6 separate regions of the Homo sapiens genome follow, and all the other regions are linked to region 3. The links are contacts of gene promoters, found by promoter capture Hi-C in blood cells and fetal thymus (Javierre and others, 2016). All regions are on one chromosome and are shown on one strand. The core of a region is centred on a gene start or on the middle of the fragment in contact, and the rest is flanking DNA. Distances in the headings are between cores, read along the strand shown. Region 1 overlaps PHACTR2 (phosphatase and actin regulator 2). Region 2 has its middle 39 kb from the start of PHACTR2. Region 3 holds the start of LTV1 (LTV1 ribosome biogenesis factor). Region 4 has its middle 52 kb from the start of PHACTR2-AS1. Region 5 has its middle 34 kb from the start of PHACTR2-AS1. Region 6 overlaps PHACTR2 (phosphatase and actin regulator 2).

Evidence for each region. The method cuts DNA at HindIII sites, captures the fragments that hold promoters and counts their contacts. A CHiCAGO score of 5 or more calls a contact.
Region 1: a fragment that was not itself captured here is called in contact with the fragment with the promoter of LTV1 in region 3 in 1 of 17 cell types (erythroblasts); the score reaches 5.3 in erythroblasts.
Region 2: a fragment that was not itself captured here is called in contact with the fragment with the promoter of LTV1 in region 3 in 2 of 17 cell types (megakaryocytes and erythroblasts); the score reaches 6.2 in megakaryocytes.
Region 4: a contact is called between a fragment that was not itself captured here and the fragment with the promoter of LTV1 in region 3, in 2 of 17 cell types (erythroblasts and M1 macrophages). The highest score is 7.1, in erythroblasts.
Region 5: a contact is called between a fragment that was not itself captured here and the fragment with the promoter of LTV1 in region 3, in 4 of 17 cell types (erythroblasts, megakaryocytes, M2 macrophages and 1 more). The highest score is 7.2, in erythroblasts.
Region 6: a contact is called between a fragment that was not itself captured here and the fragment with the promoter of LTV1 in region 3, in 1 of 17 cell types (erythroblasts). The highest score is 5.3, in erythroblasts.

The regions. Positions count from the first base shown.
Region 1 is chr6:143,693,027-143,695,726 of GRCh38, forward strand. All of the region lies in intron 1 of PHACTR2 (phosphatase and actin regulator 2), which reads left to right. Among named protein-coding and RNA genes, the nearest start is that of PHACTR2, 16 kb to the left of the region's middle. The HindIII fragment of the contact is 4,723 bases long and covers 1-2,700 here.
Region 2 is chr6:143,637,458-143,640,157 of GRCh38, forward strand. It overlaps a transcript of PHACTR2 not described here. Among named protein-coding and RNA genes, the nearest start is that of PHACTR2, 39 kb to the right of the region's middle. RefSeq lists an enhancer at 108-651. The HindIII fragment of the contact is 1,679 bases long and covers 554-2,232 here.
Region 3 is chr6:143,841,898-143,844,597 of GRCh38, forward strand. LTV1 (LTV1 ribosome biogenesis factor) reads left to right here and starts at 1,441. Exons shown (of 11, transcript NM_032860.5): 1 at 1,441-1,583; 2 at 2,589-2,700. The coding sequence starts at 1,581. RefSeq lists enhancers at 1,245-1,294, 1,475-1,684, 1,875-1,944. The HindIII fragment of the contact is 13,446 bases long and covers 1-2,700 here.
Region 4 is chr6:143,619,897-143,622,596 of GRCh38, forward strand. It overlaps a transcript of PHACTR2 not described here. Among named protein-coding and RNA genes, the nearest start is that of PHACTR2-AS1, 52 kb to the left of the region's middle. The HindIII fragment of the contact is 8,835 bases long and covers 1-2,700 here.
Region 5 is chr6:143,601,837-143,604,536 of GRCh38, forward strand. It overlaps a transcript of PHACTR2 not described here. Among named protein-coding and RNA genes, the nearest start is that of PHACTR2-AS1, 34 kb to the left of the region's middle. RefSeq lists a silencer at 1,742-1,942. The HindIII fragment of the contact is 1,868 bases long and covers 467-2,334 here.
Region 6 is chr6:143,712,593-143,715,292 of GRCh38, forward strand. The region is part of intron 2 of PHACTR2 (phosphatase and actin regulator 2); the gene reads left to right. Among named protein-coding and RNA genes, the nearest start is that of PHACTR2, 36 kb to the left of the region's middle. The HindIII fragment of the contact is 4,013 bases long and covers 1-2,700 here.

The sequences.
Region 1 (2,700 bases), core at 143-2,642, 150 kb before region 3:
CCACACACATCTGTGCTCAAATATTTTCCTCTTATAAGAACCCCATTGGAGTAGGGCCCACCCATATGACCTCATTTTACCTTAATTTTACTTTTTTAAAGGACCTGTATTCAAATATGGTCCCATGTTGAGGTACTGGGAGTTAAGACTTTAACGTATGAATTTTGAGGGACACAATTCAGCCCATAGTAGTGTCCTTTTTTTGTTTTTGTTTTGTTTTTATTTTTTTGAGACGGAGTCTTACTCCATCACCCAGGCTGGAGTGCAGTGGTGTGATCTTGGCTCACTGCAACCTCCACTTCCCAGGTTCCAGCGGTTCTCCTGCCTCAGCCTCCCAAGTAGCTGGGACTACAGGCACGCACCACCACACCTGGCTAATTTTTGTATTTTTAGTAGAGACGGGGTTTCGCCCTGTTGGCCAGGCTGGTCTCGAAATCCTGACCTCAGGTGATCCACCTGCCTTGGCCTCCCAAAGTGCTGGGATTACAGGCATGAGCCACCGTGCCCAGCCCCTTTTTTCTGTATTTTTTAAATAGGCCATTTAAGGACTTTAAGCAATGTCCCTAAAACCAATGTACAAACCAGGACTTATTAGCAATGTCCCAAAGCACACTGCATCCATTGTCTTTTTTCTGATTTTTGAGTTTCATTTCTTAACCAATTAAGGCCTCTTCCCCACTCACCTCAACAGTGCCATATTCATATTACTTGAGTAAGAGGAGGCATTGAAGGTGATTTTCAGCAATGGAAATTAACCAGTGTGACTAGGCAGTACACTTAGGAAGTAAAGCATAGGCTGTAGAGCATATGGGGTAAATTTAGAAAATGGAATATGTGTTCATGACCAGCCTGGGCAATGTGGCGAAACCCGTCTATACAAAGAACAGAAAAAATTATGTGGGTGTGGTGGTGTGCACCTCTAGTCCCAGATACCCAAGAGTCCAAGATGGGAGGATCACCCGAACCCAGGAGATCAAGCCTGTGGTGATCCTTGATCACACCACTGCACTCCAGCCTGGGTGACAGACAGAGTGAGACCCTATCTTAAAGAAAAAGAAGGAAGGAGGGAAAGAAGGAAGGGAGGGAAGAAGGAAGGAAAGAAGGAAGGAAGGAAGGAAGGAAGGCCTGCGACAGGGAGTGGGGAGGGAAGGAAGGAGGGAGGGAGGGAGGAAAGGAAGGAGGAAGAAGTAGAAGGAGGAAGGAAAAAAGGAAGGAAGGGAGGGAAAGGAAAGGAAGGAAGAAAAAAGGAAATAAATAAAGAAAGAAATGGAATATGTGACATTATGTTTCTGCCATTGTGTAAGAAATCAATACCAGTATCTTGTGATTGGAGCACCAAATTGATCGAGTAATGTTCAGGAAAGAAACCCCCAAACTACTTATCAAGATCCTAATCCCAGTGTGGTCAGTAACTAATGTGGCCACCTGACTGGTTTTATAATCTTCTTTGAGGGCCCTGAATGTGAAGCCCTGTATTTGGAGAAATGTTTTGTTCTCAAATGTCACTACATATATAGTCTTCCTTTTCTGTGTTTGGTTTTGCTGGCTCTGTATGCTTTCATTGTCTTAGATGTGTTTGAAATCCGCAGGGTGACATGTCTCTTTTCAAAGAGCTGCTAAAATAAGAAAGAAAATGAATAAGCGTGTTAAAGAAAGATGGTGTTTAAACACCTGTCAAAGTAAAGTCAGAACAAGAATGTTCTTGCCAGAAAACGCAGAGCCCCATTGAGACAGGTTGGTAATTCGAAGATGATTCATTACGACTAACTGCATTTGTATTCTAGCCCATATGCATTGTAAACCACCTAGCAGGCTTCCAATGATGTCTTCCTATCAATTCGTAAATCTCACAGGAAACTTTTAACTGGTGCAGTCAGTTTTGGTGGACTGCTTATCTTGTCAACGTGAAGATAATGCTTCAACAGCACACCCACCTCCTCTAGGTTCAAAATTCCTTATTTTATTGAAAAAGGTCCCTCAAGCTGGTTAAGCACACAAATAAGAATTGGGTGCATCAGAATCTAGTGACCCTAGGTCCTTTTGTAAAATGATTAAAACTCTCCTTAAACCTCAGAAATTATTTAATTTTATAGGCATCTCTTGGACCAGGAATTGCCTTGAGATGGCGAGATACAAGCATTCTACAAAGGCTGCAAACAAGACTCACTTCTCTTAGGCCCTGATCCGAATCCAGATTATGATGGATTGGGCATGGGGATCAGGGCATGCAGAAGCTCTTAGCCAAACCTCTACACCCTTTAGTTGTGACTCTGTCATTGTAGACTTTTAAGGCATCTTGCAGATTAGAATATGCTGAGCACTCAATCTGAGGAAGGTTAAAAGTCATAGAATATTGGTGTTCTTCCAAGTTGAGAACAGAACACTTGGATCCAAGACCCTATTTCAGATTCAACATTCAATACCCTAAGGCATAAAAATGGCGTCTTACTATAGACAGTGGAAATAACTGATAAGGATTTAATTAATTGCTTGTGGTTTTGCAGTGCCAGTCCAGGTTTATTTTCATTGCTGGGCACTGCAGTCCTAGAGGCAAAGGGAATGAGCATAAGGTTCCTGCTAGATCTTTAAAAGGGAAGGGCAGAATAAACAGAGGGCCCTTTGATAATGATTTCTTAGCCAGTCCAGTGGATAACATGAGTCTCATAATCAAGAATCCTCTGGGACTTTGTCATCTACATT
Region 2 (2,700 bases), core at 143-2,642, 200 kb before region 3:
CTCAGTAAGACTTTGCGAAATTGAAGTATATTCATTTTCTATGTTGCATAACAAATTATCACAAATTTAGCAGCTTAACACAACACATATTAACTATGTCACAGCTTGTATGGGTCAGGAGTTCAGGCACAACTTAGCTGGGTCTTCTGCAAGGCTACACTTTAGGTGTTGGGCAGGACACAGTCCTCATGTGGAGGCTTGACTGGGGAAAAGGGACTGGTCCCATGTTAGCAGAGTCAGTTCTTTGCAGCTGCAGCACTCATGGCAGCTTGCTTCTTCAAAGCCAGCAAGGAGAGCAAGGCTCTAATGCAAATCTGCTGTAGCAATGGGAGTCTTTTATAACATAATACAATCACAGGAGAAACATCCCTTCGCCTTTGGCAAACGTGATAACATAGTCATGGGAGTGACATCCCGTCACCTTTGCTATGTTCTAGTTGTTAGAAACAAGACACAGGTCCCACCCATACTTAAAGGGAGAGGATTACACAAAGGCTTGAACACCAGGAGGCAGTGATCATGGGGGGATCATCTAAGTGTCAGTCCACCACAAAGCTTTCATGTCAATTTCAAACAAAAGCAATAGCATTTCTGGTAAAAACAATCTAATGATTCCAGAGCAAGGTTACAATAATATTTTTAGTGTGTAGTTGATGAATTATTTCAGTAAATATAGACAGAAACCACAAATACTAAGGTCTTCCTTGTAGCAAATAGAGACTTAAGTTATAGTATTGCTGAGAGCTTGATTGGCAGTTACAAATTCAGTGATCGCTATGGCTTAAAAAGAAGCAGAGGAATGCCAGGTGCAGTGGCTCATGCCTATCATCCCAGCACTTTGGGAAGCCAAGGTGGGAGGATCACTTTAGGCCAGGAGTTTGAAACCAGCCTGGGCAACATAGCAAGACCCCGTCTATACAAAAATAATAATTAAAAGATTAGCTGGGCATGGTGGTGCATGCCCATAGTCCCAGCTACTCAGGAGGCTGAGATGGGAGGATTGCTTGAGCCCAGGAGTTCAAGGCTGCAGTGACTATGATCATACCACTGCACTCCAGCCTGGGCCACAGAGCAAGACCTTGTCTCAAAAAAAAAAAAAAGTATTACACACACACACATACACACACACACACACACACACACCCAGCTATCCAAGTTTTGAGCTAATTTTTCATTTTATATTAAGCATTAAACACCCCAAATGTATATTTGCTTAAGAAAAAATGCTAAATACATACTTTTAAAAAAGGGCAGTGAAGTTAGAAGATGAATGTTAGCAGGCAGATTCATCATACTTTTCCTTCAAATATTTTAAGAATAGTAAATCCACAGACAATGCTTCTTGCATATAGGGAAGTACATGTGTCTTGTCCATTGCTCTTTCTAGCAATATAGATAAATTCCTTTGTTCTACTCTGTCAATTTTCCTGCCCAATTGCATATTTGTCCTTAATAATCAGTAGTTTACAAAATTTATTCTGTCTAAAAATTGTAATTTAGAGTGTTCGTAGCTTCCCCAAAACTATGAATGACATTATCTCCTTAATGATCATTTTCTCTTTGCCCAGTTGTCAGGCAATAAAATTATTCAGTGTAGCATCAAAAGCCTCAGCCAAGGGCTGATAAAGTCAGATGAATCTACATACTTATGCATAATTTTTTAACAGTGTCCAATATTCTTCTGAATTATTTTTGAATCATTACATCTTTCTGCTTTCATGAGCCACCAATGACATGCTTCATAAAATGACAATTGCTGCAAAGTACCTGAAGTACAGTCTGTCTTTCCAAAACAAATTAATGGTAAGATATACCTATAGCAATGTAATGTTGTAAAACAAATGTAACAGAACTTTATATAGTGATTTAATCTTTAAATCACGTTGGGAGTTAGTGTTTATGCCATCAAGGCTATCATTGCTCAAAACATTTCAAAAATTACTAAGTGAAAGCATATTCAGAGCCATTTTATAAGTGACACAAGCAAAATAATTCTTATTTTTAATTCACACTTTTGTTTTCTGCTTATGTAGATCACCTATTTTTACTTTTGGCATCTAGATGACATTTGGCCCATTCAAAAAGAATTAATTGTGCTGGGGAAAAGTCTTTAGGTTTGGGAGTGAGAAAGCCTGATTATAGCGGGAGGGATTACTAACTCTCCCTTTGATGATGGATTAGCATACCCCATCATGAGTAAGGATAGCGATGGTTTGAGCAAGACAGTTGACAAGCTTGATGTAATTGATCAAGAACTCTGCACACAACAAGTAGATATTCATTCCTCTTAGGCAAATATGAAACATACACAAATATTGACTATTTACACAGTCACAAAAGAAGTTTTAAGAACCACTGAAGGGTGATTTGATTTGCATTACATTTTCTCACTGTAGTGCAATGAAATTAGAAGTCAACATAACTACTCTAAAGATAATGTGTTCTGGTTCCTAGCCTCCAGAAGCTGGAGGAAGCAAGGAATAACAACTTGTTATTAATAGAGTCATGTGCTACATAATGATGTTTCTGCCAACAGTGGGCCACATATATGATGGTAATTCTGTGTAACTGTAATAGAGTTGAAGAATTCCTATAACCTAGTGATGTCACAGTTGTTGTGCTGTCATAGTGCAAATGCTTTACTCACAAGTTTGTGCTGATGCTGGTGTAAACAAACCTACTGCACTGCCAGTTGTATAT
Region 3 (2,700 bases), core at 191-2,690:
CAGATAAAGTGCCAGAACATTAATTCATTTAAATAAATACTTACTGAGCATATATGCCCCATGCATCAGGCCCCTGATGATACAGCAGTAAGTACAACTGATTGAAAGGAAATGAAAACTGCCCCCTTGGATCTTTTAATTCTATATAATGAATAATAACAACGAATCTCTGGCACATAGGAGTGCTATGTATTATCTCTGTTACAAAGCAATATCCTAAGACAAGTTTTATGGTCCTAACCTAAATTATTTCTATATATATATATTTTTGAGACAGAGTTTCGCTCTTGTCGCCCAGGCTGGAGTGCAATGGCATGATCTCAGCTCACTGCAACCTCTGCCTCCCGGGTTCAAGCTATTCTCCTGCCTCAACCTCCCAAGTAGTTGGGATTACAGGCACCTGCCATCACACCTGGCTAAGTTTTGTATTTTTAGTAGAGACGGGGTTTCACCACGTTGGCTAGTCTGGTCTTGAACTCCTGACCTCAGGTGATCCACCCGCTTCGGCCTCCCAAAGTGCTGGGATGACAGACATGAGCCACCGCGCCTGGCCTATTTCTATAATTTTTACTGTAATAAAAGAATAATACTCCACAAATACTTACAGTGATAATGCCTACGGCATAAAGACACAATCCAGGGTAAGCCATTCATTGAGAGGTCACCAGAAACTGGGAAGTTGGGGAAACAAATTTGAAAAAAAGGTCTGCTGATGAAAGTGACTGCATTTACCACACACTTTCGTCCAAGAAAAGCTATGTGAGTACGCCAACGCCGGCCTGAAATCTTCCTAAGAATGCGTGCTTATAGCCTATTTGTTTAAACAGGGGGAGAAAGTTAACATTCAAACACCAGAGATTCTGAATATATTTTATTAGTTCAAATGCCTCTACAGTTAACAGAGTCTCGGGGGTTTGGTTAACAGGGCAGATGAAAGCAGTTCATGAAACAGTGGAAAATATAACCTGATCAAGTCTGATGCAGTCTATAAAGGCAAGGCCCCAGCCTCCGTTGCTACGGCAACCGACTCCGCCCCCACCCGGAGAGGGAACCTGAAACTTGGCGACCCCAGCACCCCAGCGGGGTGGTCGCCTCCCTTCCGTGTCCGCGGCTTTGTTTTTTATGGTTGGGAATAGGTAAGGGACACAAGTCAAGGGGGATGCTAGATTCGTCCCCTCTGGTCTCCGTAGAGGGAGCTATAAAAGGTTCGTCCACAAGCAGAAACCCCTCTGTGGCGCCTCAACGTTAAGGACCCCCACGATTCCCTTTGCCCGGCGGGAGACTAAAGGCCGGAAAAGTACAGCCCGCCCAGGGGTGGGAGCCGAGCTAGCCCCACCTCCCGGTGGCTTCTCGCGATCGTGGAGACGCAGCGAGCCTATGTAACTTCCGGTCGCGACCCATCAGCTCCTCGGCGATTGGTCCGTTTCCACGGCCGGCTGGGTGACGTTATCGCCGGGTCCTGGGGCTGCACGTGTGGTGAGGCCTACAGAAGCGGCCTTCAGCTGGACCTTGGTCTCCCCGCCGGACTTCGAGGGTGTCATCGCCGCCCCTGTTGGGGGTGAGCGCCGCGCGGCTGCAGCATGGTGAGCAAGCCTTGCTTGTTTCGGCGGCCGAGCGCTGTGGTTTTGCAGAGGCCAGGCTGCTTCCGGTAATACCTTGGCTACTGCGGCCCGGGTCTGGGTCATGCCAGAGGCTGCTTGCGGCACGGTACCCCGAAATGGGCCAACGTCACCACCGTGGGCATTCTTTGCAAGTTACAGTCTCCCACCGCCGAGCCTCCCTGGGATGTGGCCCGGAGAGGAGAATGGCCTTTTTGTTTTATCCCTGGGAGCCTGCAGCCCTGCGTGATTTCGGTTAACTAAAAGCTGGTGACTGCCGACACAAACGCGCAACCCTGTGCTTCTTGGGGTCGAGCAGAGGGAGCTGCTGGTCTCCCTCAGCGTTGGAGTGGCAGGTGTCTGCCTGTCTGTTTCCTCTGAGAAAGGGAACTTGTGGGAGAGCATAAGGTTGGGCCCAAAGTAAAGCCACTTAATTGGTTTCCCAGTTTAGAGAATCAAAATTGAATAGCGAAGTAAGAATGTAGAAAGAGGTGATGGATCTTATTAAACTTTAGCTGTTTGTGTCGTGATTTTATTTACTGGTTGGTAGATGCTCTGTGTGGAGCTGTCTACTCCAGATTATGTTGTGGCAGGCTTCTTGTCATTCTAGTTCAGTCGGCCAGGGGCCTTCCCTGAGCAGCCAGTGTAAAGTAGCTTTTAAGGCATTTTCACGTCACTGTCTTATATTTTCTTCACCGGAAATTATCTTGATTTTCTTGCTAAGAACAGGGACTTTATCTGACTTTCCCACTTCTGTATTCTCAGTTCCCATAACAAGGTCTGGCACAAAGTAGGTGCTCAAGGAATGTTTGTTGAAGGAAGGTTAAGTATGGATTCTGCAGAACACAGCTGATGTTGCCTGCCCTAGAAGTGTAGATTTTTAAAAAGTATCTTTAACATGACTACTAAAGATGCATGTGTGGACTATGGAATTATTCTCCGTCTTTTTGTTCTGTTTTAATTAATTGTTGTGATTTTGTTCCTTTGAAGCCTCACAGGAAGAAAAAGCCCTTTATAGAGAAGAAGAAAGCTGTGTCTTTTCACTTGGTCCACCGGAGCCAACGAGATCCTTTAGCAGCAGATGAGAGTGCACCCCAGAGGG
Region 4 (2,700 bases), core at 64-2,563, 220 kb before region 3:
GTCTTCACAGCGCCGATCATGCTTGCTTGTGGTACTTACAGAACATGTCACTCGGTCGGGGGTGGGGGGTCAGTTCATTTGTTCAAACAGTAAGCATTTCACAACATTCATTAACCTTAGGGTCACTTTTTTAAGTTAAGGAAGTTCAAAGACATTTGTTTAAATAACTGTATGACTGTGACGATAGTTGAAAAAAGCCAGATAGTTGAAAATTAAAGCCAACTTTGTTTTTAAAATCCAGACTTCGTGGAAAACCAGGAGCTCTGTAGCATACATTTAGAATAAAGCTCCAGCTTTAACTTCTAAATATCCTGGCTTATGTCAGTCTTTTTGTCACAGCCCTAATGCTCCATAAACAAAGGTGTCTCTTATACTAACAGATGTGGGCTTTGTCTTTAGCTGTCTCAGGGAAGGTTTTCATGGAACCTCGAAACTACAAAAACTCCCAAAGTACCCTTGAGCACCTGGGTTACTGTAAAACAAAATCATGTCCCAGAAAATTATGTTTTCAATGCAGGGCTAGTAAGAAATGAAGTTTTTTTTTTTTGGAAAAAAAAAATGCTGTACATACTTCACCAAATTCCTCTCATCTTCAAAAATGCTTACAAATATAGCTTGTTTCTCACAGTTCTCCGGTGAATTATGTAAATACTTCAAATCATCAGTTCTGCTTTTATAGATATGAAACTAAGGCAGAGAAGTTTATTTATTTATTTTTTCAGACAGCAGCCTCATGCACAGCTTAACTGCACATAAAAAATGTTGCCCTGACATATAAAATCCATGTCTGCTTGAGTATATGCTTGGCCATCGGCCAACCCACAAGGCATAGGCCATGCCAAATGTGATTTCCATTGGCTTTTATGCAGGGGGAAAGCCAGGCACAGTTTACCCTTTGGGACGCATGCAATATTGTTTTTAGGGAAATGTGGTTGTATTTGCCCTGGCCTCAAAGGCTGTCTCACTGGAGGACAGGCTTTGGTCACAGTTTTGGTCACAAAACACAACTGTCCCCATCAGCTATGTTGAAGCTCTCTGTACTAGGATATGCAACCAGGTGATCAGGGACTGGAAATCAGCTGGAAATTCCAATAGAGGCTCATTAATTAGTGGAGCCCACATATGCAGGGCATATACTTATATGGCAGGTGGGCAGCAGATGGGGGACAGTGCAAACCTCCAGGAAAAGAACAAGAGCAGGATCATTAAAGAAGCCTTAGCATTTTCACACAGAGACTGAGCTTGGAAATCCAGTTTCAGAGAAGGGATTGGAGGATTGGGTAGGGAATGTGGACAGATTATAGGGAGAGACCAAGGTAGACACCTGGCTTATGAAACGGGTCTACAGAAAACATCAGGAGGCCCCCACAGGTTTCATTCTGGCTTCTTCAATTTGGTGTGAATTGACAACAAAGAAAACTCAGGAGGGCGCGAATGAGTTCCTGTGGATCCCGAGCCCTCTCAGGCCTCCTCGGTGCAGAAGGGCAAATCCTTCCCATAGTTCCTGCCTCTCTCTCTAGAGTAGCACAGGACTTGGGAAGCCAGCAGCTACAAGGAAGCTCACCTGTCAAGCACCAACGCTTTATTTTAATTGGTATTTTGCATGAGAATCATTAAATTGCAACTCTTTCTTATATTTAATCACATTTACTGGCTTTCTCAAATTGAACATACCCCAACCCTTGAATAGTGTGGGATTGTGCAAAGGAATGGAATTAGAGTTGTAAAAGAAGAATGCAGTTCCTGGCTGAGCCTGTTCTACCTGCTGGTATGGGGCCTTGGGCATATCCATGAGCCTCACTTTCCTCATCTGTAGTTTAGGGTTGATTGTACTTGGCTTGAGTAGTAAGTATTATGTAACATAGATTCATTTTGCACCTACGTGGACTTTAAATCTTTGCGAACAGTAGCTCATTTCTTCCTCTCAGCTACCTCCCAAGGTGATCACTTGGCCCCAGGTCCCCCTGCTCTGGCTCCCTGAGTTCCTGCCTTGCTCACCTCTCACATTTTGCTGTTGTGCACTTGCTTCTGGCAGCTCCCATCTCCCTCCTTCTAATCTGCTGTTTTCTTCTTTTTGTGTGTGTGGTCTGGGAAACCAAATAATCAAGAGTGTTATCCTTTTGTTCAAAATGATAGTACACAGACCCCACTGAGGCCTTGGGCAGTGTATGATTCACTTGTGTGGGCTGGAGTTTGTGAATTTTTTACATTTATTCGGGCCGAGTTGCAGTTCGGTTGATTTCCTGGTTCTTGACATAATGGAGGTGGACAGCTAGGTTATATCTTTTAATGTTTCCTCATCATCCAATTTAGAAATCTCCAGAGATCCTGCCCAAACCTCAGGATAAAATTCAAGCCCAAAACGTCACACAAGGCCCCTGTGTCACCAGCACTGTCACCACCTCTGGTCATGTAGTCCTAGGTCCCAGCTCCCCAGACTCTTCCTCTCATCCCAAGTACTGTGTGTTCCTGCTGCTTTGCTTGGCAATGTGCTGTTCTCCTCGCGTACATCTGGTCTCCCCACTGGCCAGGAAACTGCTCAAGGGCAATGTTACCTTACCGTTGGTTTCCTTAGTCCTACCCCAGATGTGGCACACAGTAAGTATTTAATGCATGCTGGCTGACTCACTTCTTCTGCCATTGTTACCAAGCTACAGAATGTTCTATAGAGCACAATGATGTATATAGACCATCTCATTA
Region 5 (2,700 bases), core at 151-2,650, 240 kb before region 3:
TTTCAGTGGAAGGTCTTTTTTGTTTGTTTGCTTGTTTGTGGTTTTAATTTTTAAAAAATTTTTAATTATTATTGATACATAATAGTTATACATATGGGTTACATCTGATATTTTGATGCAATCATACAACTTGTAATGACCAAATCAAGGTAATGGAGATATTCATTGCCTCAAGCATTTATCATTTTTTATGTTAGGAACATTCCAATTCCACTCTTTTAGTTATTTTGAAATATAAAATACGATTGTTAACTATAGTCACCTCATTGTGCTGCCTAACATTAGTTCCTTTAGTTTTGTTTTCACTCTCGCTCTCCCCCTCCCTAATAGTTTTATGGTTTTGAAGTCATCTCCACCTTGTCCCTCTAACCTTCCCATCTAGTCAGGTTTTCTAATGACATCTTGAGGAAATTTCTGCTCAATTTTGAGGGCATACTGCCGATCCAGTATTTAGGGACCCACGTGAAGCTTAGTTAATTATTGATTATGAAGACTTATCCTCTCCCTGCCCCTCAAGGCTTTATAAAGCCATGGCTCCTGGAACTAAGGCATCAGCCATTTGTTTTTCCAACCTCATTTCTTGAGCCAGGACTCTCCATTCAAGCAGAGCCTGGCTCTGATTGCTCCTTTCTCATGTGGAGCTCTTTTAGAGCCATTACTACATAGGAGCTGCGCATCTGGCCTTGACCTCTGCTTTTGTCCCTTGGGTACAGCAGGACATTGCAGAAACCTCACCCACAGCCTTCAGCTTTTGGCTCCCTGCTCATTCATCGAAATGGTCAGCTAGCTTCTTGTGCCTAGCTGTGATTTACCTATTTAATATTTTATCTATCATTGCTATGTGTTTGGAGCAGTGGGGTGTTGTCCAAGTGTGGATTCACCAAACCACCTTGGCCAAAAGTCCAAACTTGTCGGAAGACTGTGTCTGATGGATGTTGCCTTATGTAAGGTCCAGACACCAGGCAATCTGGATGTGCAGAAAAGTTTCACAGCCTCTGCATTAAGATGGTAAAGAGGGTAAGTGTGGGCTGGGCACAGTGGCTCATGCCTGTAACCCCAGCACTTTGGGAGGCCGAGGTGGGCAGATCACCCGTGGTCAGGAGTTTGAGACCAGCCTGGCCAACATGGCAAAACCCCGTCTCTACTAAAAATACAAAAACTAGCCAGACATGGTGGTGCATGCCTGTAATCCCAGCTACTCAGGAGGCTGAGACAGGAGAACTGCTAGAATCCATGAGACGGAGGCTGCAGTGAGCCAAGATTGCACCACTGCACTCTAGCCTGGGTGACAAGAGCAAGACTCTGTCTCAAAAAAAAAAAAAAAAAAAAAATACTTGGAAGTAGCTAAACTAATTGAAGACATTTAAAAATGTCTTTACCTCCAACAATTTGCTGTTAAAAAATTATTCGATGACACTTGTTCAAGCACGGTAAGGCAGGTTTTATTTGGGACCATTGCAATAGGTATAGGGACCACTGCCATGGGATTTTGCAGTCGGGGAGAGGGATTGGACTCAACTTTGAATATAACAGGGAAAAAAATTATAGCCAAGGAGCAGTGTATGTTGCTCTGCCTTAAAAAAAAAAAAAGAGGTATCAGGCACACTCCAAGGACCATGAATAAGGGAAGAGAAGCAAACGTTATCCAGAAATTCAGGAGACCCCTCCCCACACCTTACATCAGAAGAGAAACCTCAAAAGGAGAATAGTTAGGCAGAATAGAAAACAGTCATGTCAAATAGCATTGGCCTAAAATCCACATAGTAGAACATTGGATAAATGTATAATCTTTCTTGCCCAGATCTTCCTGGAAACACTATCTGTTGCAAAACTTTCTCCTATCAACTGTTTTTGGTTAATAGTTCAGGGATTTGGTTTAGTACCTTGGAGAGCTATATATCCAAGCATTTTGCTTGTCAAAACTATTTGATAGCTGTATTTGTAAAAGCAGTGGCTCAAATGTTTTTAGAAGAGATTTTCAGCTGGGTGGGGTGGCTCATGCCTGTAATCCCAGCACTTTGAGAGACCGAGGTGGGTGGATCACTTGAGGTCAGGAGTTCAAGACAACCTGGCCAACATGGTGAAACACTGTCTCTACTAAAAATACAAAAAGTTACCTGGGCATGGTGACAGGTGCCTGTAACCCCAGCTATCCAGGAACTGAGGCTCGAGAATCACTTGAACCCGGGAGGCAGAGGTTGCAGTGAGCCGAGATCATGCCACTGCACTCCAGCCTGGTGACAGAGAGAGACTCTGATTCAAAAAAAAAAAAAAAAAAGAGAAAAGAAAAGAAGACACTTTCAGTAGAATATGTTCCAAAATGAATAGGGAGCAAGCTTTCTCATTGGTAGTCAATGTTCTGATTCTTTGGATGAATCAGAAACTCAAAAGGTTGAAATAGTCAGATAGGCCCATTTGAGTATCCAAGAGATCTACTGGACCAAGCAATCTAATTACGTGGACAGTTTACTCTTTTACTTCTCCATCCTGAGAAACAGAGCCTGATCTTGTAAGAAAGGATTCCAATTCATCCTCTAAAAGTAAAACTATGTTCTTTTTAGCCTGTGATTTTGGAGTCTCTCTGCCCCTTGGAGTGGTGTTTCTGCTCTTTTTCTCCATAGAATCCATCTGAACTGGCCTTTATCCCCCTGGGCTCGAATTTCAGTTAGGAAAGGCAGAGTATTATTGCCACCTATTGCC
Region 6 (2,700 bases), core at 196-2,695, 130 kb before region 3:
CTAGTAGACTATACTGCTATACACATAACGTAATGTTAACGGTCTTGTTCGTTAATTAAAACTTTTTTAAAAATGTATTTTTTGATGTATTTATTCTTTAGGAAAGATTTTAGTGGCTATATGAAAGAAAAGTTTTGTTATATTTGATTTTAGATTTCTATCATATCCTTAGGACAAATAAATGGTCTCTGTCTTAAGAGAGTAGAGGCACAACCCTATTGGTGTGAAAATGTTTGATTGTTAATTTAGTTTGTAGATTTGTGAAACCTTAAAAGTTACATTGCTTAGTGCCTTTCATATCAACTCGTGGACAAAGCTGGCTTTAAATCTCAGGCCAGAATTCAGCCCAATTTAAACAAGTGTTAGTGTGAGTGTATTGTGTCTAAGATAGAAAAGTGTTTAGTAAGTTCAACGTTCCCCATGCTTACTGTCCAAGGCAATCCCTTCATCAAAATTCCTCACTGCACCACAGTCTAATATTGTTAGTGGATGTACAGGGTCACAGAGCATATCTTATTGGTCTGTACTAAGATAAGAACCAGAGTTTTGTTCTAGAGCTGTGAAATGAAATTAAAAATACTACACACAATGCAAGGATATGGAATAGGAGCATCAAAGCTCCCCAAAAAAGTGGTCTCGGATGCATTTGCAGCTATATAGTTTATTTGAGCATTTTATATTTAACAAGAAATAATGATAGGCTACCTGGAATTTGTTTCAAAATAATCCTGGAGGAGTGTGAGGTAGGTAAGATTATAGATAAAGGAAGACTGGCAATGGGTTGTTCAAGCTGGGCAATGGGTCCATGGTGGTTATTATTCTCATTTCTCTGCTTATAGATATTGGAAAATTTCTGTAATAAAAAGATAGAGAAAGAAGAGAAACTTGGCTTAAGGGAAAATAATGCTAGTTTGGTTATTGGGTCCTCTTCAGCACCTAAGTGGCTTTCTGGGTTAGGAGGCAGTGAGAGGTGAGGGACAGGGTGCTGTGCTGTGTGAGGACACCCGGCTGGGTGACTTTGAACAGGTCAGATCAGCCTCAGTTTTCTCGCCTGCAAAATCGGGTAGTTGAATGTGCTAAACTCGGAGGTGCTTCAGTTCCTGATTCTGTTGTTGGTCTCCAGAGACACCCTTACACCCTTGACTCCTTCCAGTCCCTGGCTGGGCATCTTGTTCTCCTCTGTTTTTTGGTTGTGGAAGGAACCTCACTGGCCTTCTTCAAGTGCCTCCCTCTCACATGTGCTTAAGCATTGGGAGAATCTGGCTCTTCACGTTACCAAGACTACCCAAGATGGGAGCAGGGCTCCAGACGTAACGTACGAAAACGAACATAAGATACAAAATGGTGTATCATACATTAGTTTTTTTCACATTGGAGAAAGATGTCATATCTAGAGGAAAACTGATATATTCAGTTGGTGCAAAAGTAGTTGCGATTTTTGCCATTACTTTTAGTGGCAAAAAACCGCAATTACTTTTGCACAAAACTAATATTTGGATATAACCAAGAGAAAGTTATTTTCTTCTTTAAAAAATTATCTCAAGCAGTGGAATCAAGCTGTTTGGATATGATCAGGGCCATTTGCTGTCTGATAATCAATGAAGTACACCTTAGGCCAGACCCACAACATCTTGAGGTATAAAAGAAAGTTCATTTCTTCCAAGAAAAGTAACTCTTCTACGTTTGTCCTTCTCTTAAACTCCTGGGTTGGTATTCACATGGATATGAACCTTATTGTGTTCTGCCGCACAGCGATAAATACCACTTTTCCTGGTATGGGTTTCTGTTATAGGAATTCTTAATTGGTAGTAGATAGGATGTAACACTAATTTATTAATGCATTGTAATAGCATGTTTATTATTGTAGTGGGAGTTAAGAAGGGTCCCATTCGTGGCCAGTTTTGGTGGTCCTTGAATCAGTTGTATTTTGGAGTGCTCATTCTACGTCTAAAGGACATCTTGCCCTATAAGGCAGGCTGGGCTTATGCCCCAGCTTCCAGTTCTCTGGCCTTGTTTTAAAGCAGAAAGTTTCCAATATCTTCAACTCTGATTTAGGCTGTTCAGTGTCTGGCTGTTAGATTCTAGGGCAGGAGAATAGATCTCTTTTCCGTCCACTTCTCTCAGATACCCCCCTTCATTTCTTTTCTTCTCCTGCATGAGAGGTCCCACGTAAGCTCTAGGTTCTTCTATCCCTTCCCTATTGTTAGAACTCAAAATGGCATTTACATCTTTTTTTCCCCTACATAATCATTTTTTCCCATTTTGCTTTGATTTGATTTGATTTGGTGGGAGGTGAGGATATAAACATCCTTCCTTTGGATTTTTATATATGCTTGTATCTCCCCAAAGCTAAGAGTACAAATGCCCTGCCTAAATAAACACAGTTGTTTCTCTAACTTATCACAGTGTATTACCATCAAAACCAAACTTACTGAAAATCTAACCTATCTCTGCTGCCTCTACTTTCTTTCTTCCCACATTCTCATTCCTTTTCCCACTGCAATCTATCTCTGTGTCCTGTATTCACCGAGGTTACTCCAAGCCTCCGAACCATTAAATTTAGTGTCGTTCTCTTATTTTCATTCATTTCAACCTCTACAACATTTTCCATTACTGAACAGTCAGTCCTGCCTTAATGTCCAAAATACCTCTTCCTTAATTTACAAAAGCTACCATTGTCTTGTTTGTCTTTGACTTCTC